Linked DNA regions of Homo sapiens: region 2 is linked to region 1. Evidence: promoter capture Hi-C in 16 types of primary human blood cells and fetal thymus (Javierre and others, 2016). All regions are on one chromosome and are shown on one strand. Each heading gives the region's core, a stretch centred on a gene start or on the middle of the fragment in contact. The rest is flanking DNA. Distances are from core to core; before and after follow the strand shown.

What was found. Contacts are between HindIII fragments. The CHiCAGO score rates a contact against its expected background, and 5 or more counts as called.
Region 2: a fragment that was not itself captured here is called in contact with the fragment with the promoter of USP1 in region 1 in 1 of 17 cell types (naive CD8 T cells); the score reaches 5.8 in naive CD8 T cells.

The regions. Positions count from the first base shown.
Region 1 is chr1:62,433,145-62,439,975 of GRCh38, forward strand. USP1 (ubiquitin specific peptidase 1) reads left to right here and starts at 3,905. Exons shown (of 9, transcript NM_003368.5): 1 at 3,905-4,256; 2 at 6,655-6,831. The coding sequence starts at 6,724. RefSeq lists enhancers at 2,372-3,139, 2,822-3,171, 3,140-3,907, 3,732-3,801 and a silencer at 4,502-4,561. The HindIII fragment of the contact is 3,360 bases long and covers 2,501-5,860 here.
Region 2 is chr1:59,815,213-59,821,716 of GRCh38, forward strand. The region is part of intron 1 of HOOK1 (hook microtubule tethering protein 1); the gene reads left to right. Among named protein-coding and RNA genes, the nearest start is that of HOOK1, 3.5 kb to the left of the region's middle. RefSeq lists an enhancer at 41-604. The HindIII fragment of the contact is 167 bases long and covers 5,172-5,338 here.

The sequences.
Region 1 (6,831 bases), core at 2,655-5,154:
CTCAAAAAAATAAAAATAAAAGTTTCATAATTTGAAGATTTAAAGGGCGGAAAAAAACCACACTTCTTCTATACCTTTAGACTGAAGTACAGTTGGCCCTCCACATTCATGGGTTCCATATACATGGATTCAACCAACCACAGATCAAAAAATCTTATGAAAAAGGTACACAAAGTTCCAAAAAGCAAAACTTGAATTTGCCACGTGCCAAGTGTTAAATACTATGTTAAATCCATGTGAATGATGTGTAGGCATTGTATTAGGTAATTAAGTAATCTAGAGATGATTTAAAGTATAGGTGGGATGTGCATAAGTTGTATGCAAATACTATGCCATTTTATATATGGGACTTGAGCATCCTCGGATTTTGATATCCATAACGGTCCTGGAACCAATCCCCCATGGATACCAAGGGATGACTGTACACAGAAACAGTGCCTGTGAAACTTTGGAAGGAAATATGCCTGGCATTTACCCACACAAGACTGACAAATATAGGATTGAGAATGCTGTGAACCTATTAAATCCCATTGTTTCCAAAGGGATTAGCTGTCATTAAGAGTGGGGTAACTGGGGAGCACACAGAAACTGGGAAAAAAGTTTCGGGGCTTAAAAACTCATCTAGGCAAGAACTGTGGCTAGAATTTCTCCCACAAACAACTGACTGAAAGCAAAAGAATGAGAAGCATATTAAATTTTTACATTAATCATATTGCCAGAGACACACCAAACTTCTGCTATTGCTGTTGACAAGCACAGTTGTGGAGGTGTTTGATTTTTCTGAAGCAGCATTAGCAGAAACCTCAGTGTCTAGCCACTTGTCCTGTGGGCCTTGACAGACGGGACGTAGGATATGCATGGCACTGGTGCAGATCATAGTGGGTATAGTGTGGTTCTAGGGTCAGCGGTGCACGCAGCTTTCTGATGGTGGTTTCCTAGGCATGGCAGCAGCAGTGTGATTCAGAGACGTCATTTCCTGATCATAGAAGAGTCATTGCTTCCTTGGTGGCCTGGTTCTGGGAAGACTTTGGGACTCATTCCTGAAAAACTAATCTAGAGCCTATTTAATCAACCCTCCCAAGTATTCAATATCTTTGTGTTTATACTAGCTAAAATGGATTCTATTTTCCGCAAATGAATCTTAACTGATACCACACATTGTGTACAGGAAGAATAGTGGCTGCAGACAATAGGATCTCAGGAATATGGGAAAGTAGAATTGCTTATCTGTTCTCGTAGAGTTTGAAAGTAGCAATAATTATGCTAGTACTAGAAAATGAGACACTGCCACTCTGTGGTGCACAATGGCTAAGACTGACCTATATACATTTTCTAATCTTGTCCTTGTGTATTTCGTGATCTGCTGGTTCAACATCTGTTTGTACGTTAAACACCTCAATCTTAATATTCTAAGAACGATGATCCTTCCCATTGAGCCTACTAAGACCCCCATTTTAGCAAGGACCAACACTGAGTTGCTCAGGTTAAAAAAAAAATCGTTACTCTTTGTTTTTTTTTCTTTTTTCGGGTGGGAGGGTGGAGGGCAGGGCCTCACACTGTTGCCCAGGCTGGAGTGCAGTGGTGCATCTCGGCTCACTGCAGCCAGGGGATCCTCCTCCCTCATCCTCCCGAGTGGCTGGGACTACAGGCACGTGCCACCACGCACGGCCAATTTTTGGAGTTTTTTGTAGCGATGGGTCTTGCCATGTTGCCCAGGCTGATCTTGAACTCCTGGGTTCAAGCGGTCCACCGGCCCTGGCTACCCGACCTGTTTTTTCTTACATTATCATACAGCCAATCCATCAGTAGAGCTCGTTGGCTGTGCTCAAAATATATCTTGAACCCTACCAGTTTTCAACATCCCACCATCTTATTCCAGACTACCATAATTTATTCCTTGGCTTATTGAACCAGCATCTTGGCTGACCTTTCCGCTGGTACTTTTCTTTTTTTGAGACAGAGTTTTGCTCTGGTTGCCCAGGCTGGAGTGCAGTGAGGCGATCTCGGCTCACCGCAACCTCCGCCTCCTGGGTTCAAGCGATTCTCCTGCCTCAGCCTCCGGAGTAGCTGGGATTACAGGCCTGCGCCACCACGCCCGGCTAATTTTGTATTTTTAGTAGGGACGGGGTTTCTCCATGTTGGTCAGGCTGGTCTCGAATTCCCGACCTCAAGAGATCAGCCCGCCTTGGCCTCCCAACGTGCTGGGATTACAAGCGTGAGCCACCACGCCCGACCCTGCTTGTACTCTTGAAGGTCAACGTGTAATCCCGCCACTCCCCAGCTCAGAATCATCTAACGACTCCCATCTCCTTACTCGGCTTACCCAGGGTCCTGCCTTTCTCACTCATCTCATCTCCTCCCATCTTATTTCCCAAATTGACTGCGCTCTAAGCGCCCTGGCCTCCTTGCTTCTTTTCAAAACACCAACCACATTAAGCTTCAGGACGTTTGTAACTTGCTGTTCTCTCTGCCCGCACCATTCTTCCCTCAGATTCCTCCAAGCTTTTTCATTCAGCTCTGCTCAAATGTCAACTCAAAGAGGTCTTTCCAGGCTATCGTATCTATCACTTATCTTAGCGTCACTTGTATCTCCCTCTCCAGAATGTAATGCTCCTTTATGACAGGGAATGCCTTTACATCCCTCGCGCCTTGAAAAATGCCTGGCACATAGTAGGCACCTTAAAAATACTTGATTAAATGGATTTGGGCTGAACGTATCCTGCTTAACTGCAGCACTTGAGCTGAGGTCACCTCACCAAAGCAGGCACACAAACACAAAAGGAAGCACACAACCAGATGAGGCCTGCCTGCCGCTCCTGAACCCTTTGGGAGGGCTCGCGCGGGAACCCTGGGAAGCTCCCGCGGCCGGAGCTGGGCCTGAAACTGTTCTTTCGTTTCCTCCTGCGGCCGAGAAAGGGAAGAGGTAAACAGGCGAAAATGAGGCGAGCAGGGGCTGAGGACCGGGCCTCAGCTCTACAGCATTCGCCTGAGCATGTATTGTTATCCGTGGCAGCGCCTTGTCTCATTGGATGGCCCTAGGCCTAGTGTGGCCGCGACTCCGAACTGAAAGCCCAAGCGCGGCGGCGTCCAGCCGGGCAGCCATTTTCCGAAGCTGCTCTCTTGGTAACCCCGCCCGGGCGCGTACGCACGAACGGAGGCGGGGCTTACCGCGAGGGCCTCGCTCCGGAAGCCGCACCCTCCGCGGCGTCCCACCGTCGAGGATTAACAAAACGCCAAACAAGATTTTAACAGTCGGCAGCGAAAGCGCGCACTCGAGCGCCAATGAGAGCGGAAGGAGGGGCACCGCGCCTGAGGAACACTCCGTATGTCGAACAATGATTGGCTGGAGCCCACCTTTCTTCTTTTTTGCTATTAGATGGGCTTGCTGCTCCCGCCCATCTAATTGGCTTTGGTCTAGGTACTTCTGATTGGCTTCCCCCGGGCGGTGGGAGGCGCGGTTTTGGGGATTGTTCATCATGGATTGGTGAATTTGGGCTCCTTCTCGAGGTGGTGGCCCATCCCGTCTGCTCTCTGTCCCGTCTCCCGACCCGTACGCTTTTCCCTCAACTCGCGCGCACGAATGGTTAAAAAAAGGGTGTGAGGCTCGAGCCCGCCAGCCAGGCCGCTAGCACCTCGCGCGCGCCCTCAGCGAGGACCCGCACGAGCTGCCCGGCTCTGTGCCTGCGTTGTTTGAAACTGTGGAACCCGTTAGGCTTTTGGGGAACTACAGTCCCAGCTGGCTCCGGAGCCCGTGCGTGCCAGGGGCGAGTGGCCGTCGCGAGACGGCTCCTGCCTTTCGTGTCTCTGCAGCGTGGAGACTGGAACCGGCAATTTCAAAGGACGCCACGTTCAATCGCAGCGCTGGCGCGGGCGGAGGCTAAAACACGGGGGTCCTGAGACTGAGGAAAACGCGCCAAGTTCCCCTCGGTGGCGGAGTGCTAAAGACCCTAGCGGTTCAGGCGTTCGGCGAGCGGGGCCGCTGCTTGTTGCGCTCCTGGCTCTCCCGGGGCGGGCGCAGATGGGCGCCGCTCCCGGGATGTAGTTGGTGTTGGTGCAAGACGGGAGCGAGCGGCGGTCGGGGTTCCCGCTCTTGGGAGCGGATGGTCACTCCCCCGCGGGGAGGGCGAGCCGACCAGATTTTCCTGGGGCCGGGGACCCGGCGGGCTCGGGGCAGGGACTCACCTGTCGCACCCACACTCATTCGGGTTGGACTTGCCGGCGTCACCGCCGCGGACTTCGCTTTGGGCCATGACCAGGTAAGGAGGGCCTGGGAGGAGGGGCCGGCTCCCGGGCGCGGGGGCAAGTTCGGCCGGCGCGGGAGAGGAGCTGCCGGGGAGACCCCGGGACCGTGTTGGCCTCGCACCCTGGTCGACCTGCCAGGGGGAGCCGTGTGTGCCTCGGGCGTGGCGCCTGTCTTGCCGCCGCCGGGACGCGAGAAGGCAGGTGCGGGCTGGGCGTAAATAGGCCAACTCCGCGGCGAGGGCGCCCGGCGCGGGGGTGTGGGCCGAGGACGCCGCCGCCAGCCTCCCCCGACCGGGCAGCCTGGTCGCTGCTCGTCCTTCCAGCTTTCTTTCCGTTCCCGAGAGCGGTGAAGGATGGGGAGAAAGAAACGTTTCCACGCAGGTTGCCCTGTGTCGGTAATTGCGAAATTTTACCGCGCATTTTCTTTCACTTACACTTTTTCAAGAAGTGTTTAGAACGCCGCGTGTCTTAAACCTTGGCGAAGATGTCCTTGTAGATTTTTGTTGAAAAATCGGAATCGAGTCGTGTCATCTTATAAAGAATTTAAAACTATTGGGACTGAGTGTTCACGCTGTCAACAGATAATGGTCGATTCGTCGTGCTTTCTGCGAAAGTTGATTTAGTTACAGGAGAAATATTTTGGATGTAACAGCCCCCCAGTTACAAGGAAAGCCAGGAGCAAGAAATAGCAAGGAAGATACTGCACCTGGCAAAATGTTACATTCTCGGTGTGAGCTTTGCTTTGAGGGGCTAGGAGGTTTGGTTTTTTGATTAAGCTGACGATCCGCTATTTCACCTGCCTAATCATTCTTCCCTTCTGTGTAGTCTGGTTACTCTGTCGGTTTGAGATCCAGTTTCTGTCATCCATTAAATTGGCTCTCGAGAAAAACCTTTTATCAGAATCATTAATGCTTGGCGATCCCTGAGAACTTAGCGCAGGTTGGTTTATCATTCAGAAGACAGCGCTTCCTCAGAAGCATTAGGTAGACAGGAGAGTAAGTGAAGTTGGAGACAGAATGGAGAGATGGATCAGCTTTCCAGTGCTTCCTGATTTGGGTCTCAGAAATGGTTTCAGTGTGCTGAGTTCAGTATGAATTCCTAGATCAGTGTCAGCCATGTGAAATGCTTATTAAGGATGAAATTTGAGTGAGTCTTGTGTAGTTCATTTTATTACTCTGCATTTTAAATTTGAAACTCGTTGCTGAAGTTTTGGGCTTTAAGTAATTTTATGGTAATACTCTAGTCAGATAATTTTTCCTCCCATGTCCTGAAAAATAGGCCTGATGTAGAAAATATTAACTCCTACACTCCTACAAATGTTGCCATTTTTTTTCACGTGCAAGTTTTACTTTAAAACAGGGTGGGAAAGTTGCAAATGGCAAACCAAATCATCTTTTTTTCCTACTCAAAGCACTATTTTTAAAATCCAAAGTTTTTTAAAAAGTTTGGAAAACGAGTATTGTGGTTTCTAGTGCATTAAGAATTGGATTTACACAAAGTGCATCGAACAGTTTTTTTTATCACGGTCTCAACTTTGCTTGTGTTTTATCTTTCACTTACGGTTTTAGGTATAACTTAACACCATCTCTATGCCTTGAATGCAAATTATTCTTTAATAAGCTTTTTAGGTACTTTATTTTCATATATCCATGTTAATAACTAGAAAAGGCATTGGAAGAGAGGACTCATCGTCCAGCACTACTTTGATTTTCCATTCATCCTTTCCTACCTTGTACTTGAGAATTAGAGGTGGTAGTGCTCAGTCAATATTTTCTGAATGAATCATTATAATGAAATATTAAGTTGTTTTTTTTTTGAGACTAAGTCTTGCTCTATGGCCCAGGCTGGAGTGCAATGGCACGATCTCGGCTCACTGCAGCCTCCGCCTCCCGGATTCAAGGGATTCTCCTGTCTCAGCCTCCTGAGTAGCTGGGATTACAGGCGCCCGCCAGCACGCCCGGCTAATTTTTGTATTTTTAGTAGAGATGGGGTTTCACCATGTTGGTCAGGCTGGTCTCGAACTCCTGACCTCGTGATCCACTCGCTTCGGCCTCCCAAAGTGCTGGGATTACAGGCGTGAGCTATCGCTTCCGGCCCTTGAAATAATAAGTTTTTACTACTTATACTATTTTACTGTAGGTCTACTAAATAGGATATTTTGTAATGCGACCCTTAATCCATAGCAGGCTGATTTTAAAAATTCAGTAGCTTCTGTTTTTTGTTCTTTAAGAACAGTGTGGTATGCTTCTTCATTTAAGCAATAAATATTGAGTGCTTATTGGCAGGCATTAGGTTTTCAAATGTTAATTTCTAATTTGTACCATTCCCTTGGTAAATTTGTTTTCAAAATTGATGATTTTGTTGCCAAAACTGATAACCAAAAACTAATGAAACTTTCTCTGTGATTAACAGATATAATTGGTGATTACAACTTTCCTCTATAAATTAACTCTTGACACTCCTTGGGATTTGAAGAAAAAAATGCCTGGTGTCATACCTAGTGAAAGTAATGGACTTTCAAGAGGTAGCCCTTCAAAGAAAAACAGACTTTCCTTAAAGTTTTTTCAGAAAAAGGAAACTAAGAGAGCT
Region 2 (6,504 bases), core at 4,005-6,504, 2.6 Mb before region 1:
CAGGGGGCCGAGGCGAGGAGCCTGGGGCGCCCGGTTCTCCCAGGTGAGCTGGGGCTACCTGCACAGGGTCCCGGCGCACCCTGCCCTTCTCACCTCGTGCCCTTGACCGAGAGAATGCCACCTGCGGGTCGACGGGCAGGTGTGTGGGCGCGGGTTGGTGTCCGGGGGTGGGGGTAAAGGAAGCTCTGGGAGCGTAACAGTGGAGGCTCTGGTCTCAACCAGAGGATTCGACCTGCCTGGTGCCCTAACAGCTGGGATATGAACCAAGCACCCATCCTCTTTTCTCCCCGCTGCCCCATTTTCTCCCCCTGAACAGCGCCCGAGCCCTCCACTTTCTGGATCGCCGACTCTCTTGCCTTGGTCCGCTTGGGCGTGAAGACCCTTTCCGAAACCTAACCCTGCATCCTCAAACTACCTTGCTCTACCTGGACACAGGTGGCCAGGAGGTGGCTGGCTGTTTTAGTTCCCGGACCAATGCTCCTTCAGGACTCTAGAACATCCGATTTTGTAGAAGCCGCTTCAAAGAGATGTTTGTATTTCCCGTATGGAGAAAAAGATGTGTTGGGAGTCGGGGGTCGTTTTCCCTTTTTCTCGCTGGCCCTCTCCTCCTCTAAATGGACAGCATTTTCTTTAAAGAAAATGAGTTGACATTTTTCTTTAGGATTTATCTGTGTTTAGGATTTTTGTTAATTTGTGTTGGGTCTGGACAGGCATATCTGTCCCCAGATTGTTCAATATTCCAGTCAGCAAAATGACATCCCACCTCTTAGAGTTACTTAGATATCAGTGCTGGCATTCAGGTGTGGTTCTTAACCCATATTGAGTAAAGATGGTGTTTGATGAGCCACAAGGTGCTGTTGATGATGCTCATCCCAAACCAGTTGTTTAGTTGCGTCTAGGGGAGTGTGTGCAGATGGAATGTAAACAGACGGGATCAGGAGGCTGTAATCGGTTGAGATTCCCTAGTGATCTAATGCATCTAATTCCAAAGAATGAGAAATCTAGGTTTATGGAAATGTGTGAAGCCTATTGGAAATAGCCATAATTTAAAGCATTTACACTTTGTAAGTAAATAACTTTTGCTTTTAGTGGAATGCAAATATTTAGGGTTTGTGAGTTAAAAGCAATTAGCTAACTGTTCAGCTGAATTTTCATTTGAAATAGGTATTGGGGTGGAAGTGCTGTATTTAAGACTGTCGTAGAAACAAGGCAACATTACTTTTAATGATTTGTTTTGTTAAAACAGACTAATTAAAGGGTGTATCCGAATCTGCTACATTATTGTAAACCTCAATTGACTGAAGTGTTAAGCTTAGTCTTTATGATGTCATTGATTTACATGTGAGGTGGTGGAGAAGCACAGGATTTTCTTTTGTGTTGTAATATTTTAAAATATTATGTGACTGTATCCACTCTTTTAACCAGAATTTATTGACTTCCAATGTTGAGCTAGGCACTGGGGAGGACTGGAGTGGTAGCCAGAGCTGTGTGTAATTACAGTGGAAGGTAAAATTCCGTAAAAGCTGCAAATATGTTGTAAACCAAATGATAAGGAATCACAGATAACAGAGTAAAATTGGTCGTTTTCTTCAGTCCTCTCTTGGGCTGCTGAGCACTGTGGAGAAAATTGAATGACCGTGCAAACTGTTGCCTCTACTAATGCTGTTACTGTCAAACGCACCTTTTCTCCTAACATTGCCCATACTTAAGAATAACCAGACAGTTTCTCTCACATTCCTCTTAGCAAACCTTTATCAGTATTCTACCTGAGCCCCCAACTCTTATTCCTCTGGGGCAAATGACCACCTCCTTATCCTTGGCTCTGGCTTTAGACTCCATCCCTTCCACCTCTTTTAAAACGTTATTGTATCATTTGTTCCCTTTCTGTATTTACAACTACTTTCTCTCCATTGGCTCCTTTCTCTGTATGTATAAACTTGCTGAAGTATTCCCCTTTTTTAACAGAGAACAAAGAGCCACTATTCCGTGTTAAAGTCATACTGTATTTCCCCTTTCCTTCACAGTAAAATTTGAGTTGTTTTATTCTCACCCTTTATGCTTCACTCTCATTCAGTCTTCAACCCACTACCCTTGAGTTTCTTTCCTCTAAGACTTTCACTTCATTACCAGTTTGCTAAATCCACTAAGTGTTATATTACCATTTTCTTACTTGATGGTTCCTTTGTGAAATTATCTTGTCTTGGTTTCTGGTTATCTTGTCTGTTGCCTTTTCTTTACCTCTTTAGATGATTTCCAGTGAAGTTTACTGTCTTTTTTTTTTAATTAACTAATTATTTTTGCCTTTGCCAGCAACCGCACTGTTGATCTTACCTCACCTACCCAACTTTCTCCAAACTCACCTCAAGCAACAGTTCTTCAAGCCTATCATGCTGCATTGACTTTCTATTTGTTGAAGAAGCTAAGCTGTTTTAATGCATCAGGGATTTTTTTCCCTCTACCTAGAATATTCTCTTTCTAGTTCTTCCAGTGGTTGGCTGCTTCCGTCATTCAGGTCTTGGGTCAGATGTTGCTTTTCAGGGACTCTTTGTTACAACCATTTCTAAAGTTTGTCTCCCACCCTTATCCCACTGTAACCTGTTAACCTCTTTCTGTCTTATCTATAACACAGTACTTTCTAAAGTAATCCAGTTGGCTTTTGGGATCAGAGCTCTTACATGACCTATTTTCTGCTCTGTCCCTAGGAGAACACTGACAACTATTGCCAATAAGACACCAAATCAAAGTGGTGATAGTAAATATCATTGCCTTGGTTCTCACCTCAGAGACTAGTGTTTCACCATTAAGTGTGATATAGCTTAGTTTTTTATAAATACTTGGGAGTGAATTTTTAACTGGGTCATAGAGGATTGTTGGATTTCAGCAAGTAGAAATCAGTGGAAATTAGTTCTCCAGACACAGGGAAGAGACACTAGTAGTAAAACAAATGGTCTCCTTTGGCTATAGATTAAAGGGAGATAGTGGAACACACACATTTGTCATGATAACCCTGGCTCAAAGATAGAAGATTAAAAAAAGTTATGATGGGGCCAAATCATGGAGATAAGACAGTTGGGAATAACTCTTCTTTCAGCGCTAGGAGGAGAATGGAGCCAACATCAACAGAATTAGAGAAGTCATCAAGAAAAGTTAGTTATGTGAAGGAATGCCTCTTGTGGCAATTTTTTAAAAATTGCATTTTATGATTTGGAACTCACCGTCTTAAAATAATTGGCTCTTAGAAATGTTGTACTGCTACTTAGCAGAAAATTCAGGGCAAAAGGGTAAATGTGGGTATCATTTACATGTTGGAGGACATGTATGAGAGTTTGAAGAAATGTTTGTATAAAGATAAATTTAATTCTGCTACTTGGTTCTGTGACATTGGAAATTTGTTTAATATCTTTGGACCTTACTTTCACCAATAAAATTAGAAGGTTGGACCAAATATATTTAAATGTTTTTCTTGGTTCTTGCATTCTTTGACAGGCAGATGAAGGAAAGAGTAATAATTAATATATGCCTAAATTTAGAAAATTATTAAAACCTCAATTATTTTTATGAAGATCTTAAAACTTAAAGCAATGGTTGTTTTTTTTGTAATGAGCAGCTGGAGGAGGAGAATATGAAAATAAAGTTGATCCAAGATTGAGTTTTTGTTGGCTGTTGGTTGTGAAAACCCCATTTTCCTTGATTTCTGTGACATTTATATTAAAGTAGTTTAGGAACAGCATTTCCACATTTCTGATTATTTGTTTTATTTAGAAATATAGAAGAGAGTAAGGTAATTATTTGCCAGAACACTGTGTTTAGCGGTAGACACCTGTGGAAACCCTGTCTGTCTTTTTTGGGTCACTCACTAAAAAGACTTTAGTTAGAAAGAATACATTTTCTTTTGTCTGCTTTGACCTCACTCGCCCCAATAAGCATTTTTTTTTTTTTTTTTTTTTTTTTTTTTGAGGCGAAGTCTCACTCTGTTGCCTAGGCTATAGTGCAGTGGCATGATCTCGGCTCACTGCAACCTCCACCTCCCGGGTTCAAGGGATTCTCCTGTCTCACCCTCCCTAGTAGCTGGGATTACAGGCATGTGCCACCACACCCGGCTAATTTTTGTATTTTTAGTAGAGACAGGGTTTCACCATGTTGGCCAGGCTGGTCTCGAACTCCTCACCTCAAGTGATCCACCTGCCTCGGCCTCCCAAAGTGCTGGAATTACAGGCATGAGCCACTGCACCCAGCCTCCCCACTAAGCTTTTTAATTAATTCACTCTTCTTGGTTGTAAGCCTTTCAATTGAGTGAAATCAAATTACATTCTGTTTTCTAATTTATTTTGCAGCTATTTTAAGAACTTCTCAGAGACACTCCAATGTCCATGGCAGGAAGGAGGGGAAATTGATTTTAATCTGAACATAGTGGTCATGGAGGTAGTCCCTTAGCATGTGTACCTCTTATTTTGCCTAGTATTCTGTGCCTCTGAAATTGTCCTTTTAAAATCATGAATTGTGTCAATTTTGTAAAAAGTTAATGATGTAACTTCTAAGTTACACATTAAAAGTTAATGTTTAAGTTGGAAGGGCTGAAAAGTGGAAGTCACAGTTTATTTTCCTTTTAAAGATGCCCTAATTCTTGGAGTTTCTCTTCCCTGTACATCCACCCAGTTGCAAAATCCTTCTTATTTTGTATTTTAAATATTCCATTAATTCATCATCTCCTCTCAGTCAATATTATGCTGATTCCCTCTACTCTATTTTTGTCATCAGAGCCATTGCAGGAACCTTCTAACTGGTCTGCCTGACTCAGGCATAAAGCTACTCTGTGTCACTATCTGCTCTCCAAAATATGCCAAAGAATGTTACTCTTCCTTATTACTTTTCAGTGATTTTTCATCACCCAGAGCAGTGGTTCTCCAAAATTGACATATTTAAGAATCAGTTGGAGATTTTCTTATTTAATATGTCTAGAGATTCTGATACATATTGTTTCTAGGCCCTATACTTGGAGAAACCCTGACTCATAGCTAATGTGCTAACAGCTGTTGAGCTTATGCCACATGCCAGGCCCTGATATAGGTATATTTGCTATTTCACTTAATTCCCCAACCATCTTGTGAGGTAGAAACTACTCTACTGTTTCTTATTATGTAGATAATGCCATTAAGTGTAAAATAAGTCCAAGCTTCTTGTCATGGCCCTTTGGAGTCCTGTCTCTTTAACCCTGTTGGTTGTCACCCCTTCCCCAGCCTTCTTTGCACTGCAAATCCAGTGATACTGAACTGCATGTTCCCTAAAAATAATATCTCTTCTCATGTATCTGTACTTTTATCATATTCCTATTTCCTGAAGCTTTTTTTCCTTGACTATTTCTTTACTTAGAAAATATGCTACTCTTCCCTCTAGACCTTCCATTCAGAAATCATCTCCGAGAAGCCTTTCCTAAATACAAACCCTAATTAGATTAGTTGACACCCATTTTTTGCAGAACATTTTGTGCATACTGTAATCATGGGACTTACCATATTGTCTAGAAATGATTTATGTCTCTTCCTCCTCTCCTTAACTTTTGACTGAAGCTTTAAGGGTAGAAACCTGGTGGTTTTCCTTTGTAGCCCCATCATGTGCCACAGTGTCTCACATAGCGTAGGAGCTTAGTAAAGTGTCTCTGTGTGTTTTGAAAATAACTGGCTAGGTTTAGTTTGCTGGTATCATTCATCTGTGTTGTGTTAGATAATGGAGGTCTGAATCTCCAGTTGCCAACTCTGAAAATGCACAGAACCATTAAAAGTGAATTATGGCGGGAGAGAATTTTATTGGATTAAGATAGTTAAATGGTAAACTAAGAAATTATTAGTGAACAGTGAAATGGGTGAGTATGTGTGGGAAAAGAGAATCATAGTATATTTAACTTAAGGTGTTTATAGGTTGAGATTACCTTTCTAGAAAGTTTATGATCCATTTTAGCTCTGATGTAATTTGCTTTCTAAATTTTTTTCTATCTCATATTTGCTTATTGTAAAAAGAGGTTATTATTCCGCTTCTCTTCAATATATACATGAATATTTAACAGATATATGTGAAAAGTTAGTATACCTAAAGCCAAAATAGATAGAAACAACTTGACGTGATAGATAGGGCTTGATTCTTCAAGACGTAAGGCCAATTTTTAGATAGGAAACAGAAGTCCTGTCTTATTTCAGAGCTCATGGATAAACTGTAAGTAGGTTTAGACTTGACATTTCTAGCCTTTGTTTTTCTATCAAATGATATGAGTGAAATTTTAAGTTGCAAATGTTGGGTTATCTTTAAGTTCTTTTTCTGATGTTCTGCTAAATATAGACAAAACACAAGACTAGAGTTATATACCTGGTTTTGTATTATTCCAAATTATGTATTACTTATGCATGGCATCAATATGTTCTAATGTCCTAGGCATGATTTTGTGAAATGTTTAGTTTATTTTTATAAAGTTACACAGCCATAGAGACATATTAGCATAGTTCCATTTGTTTG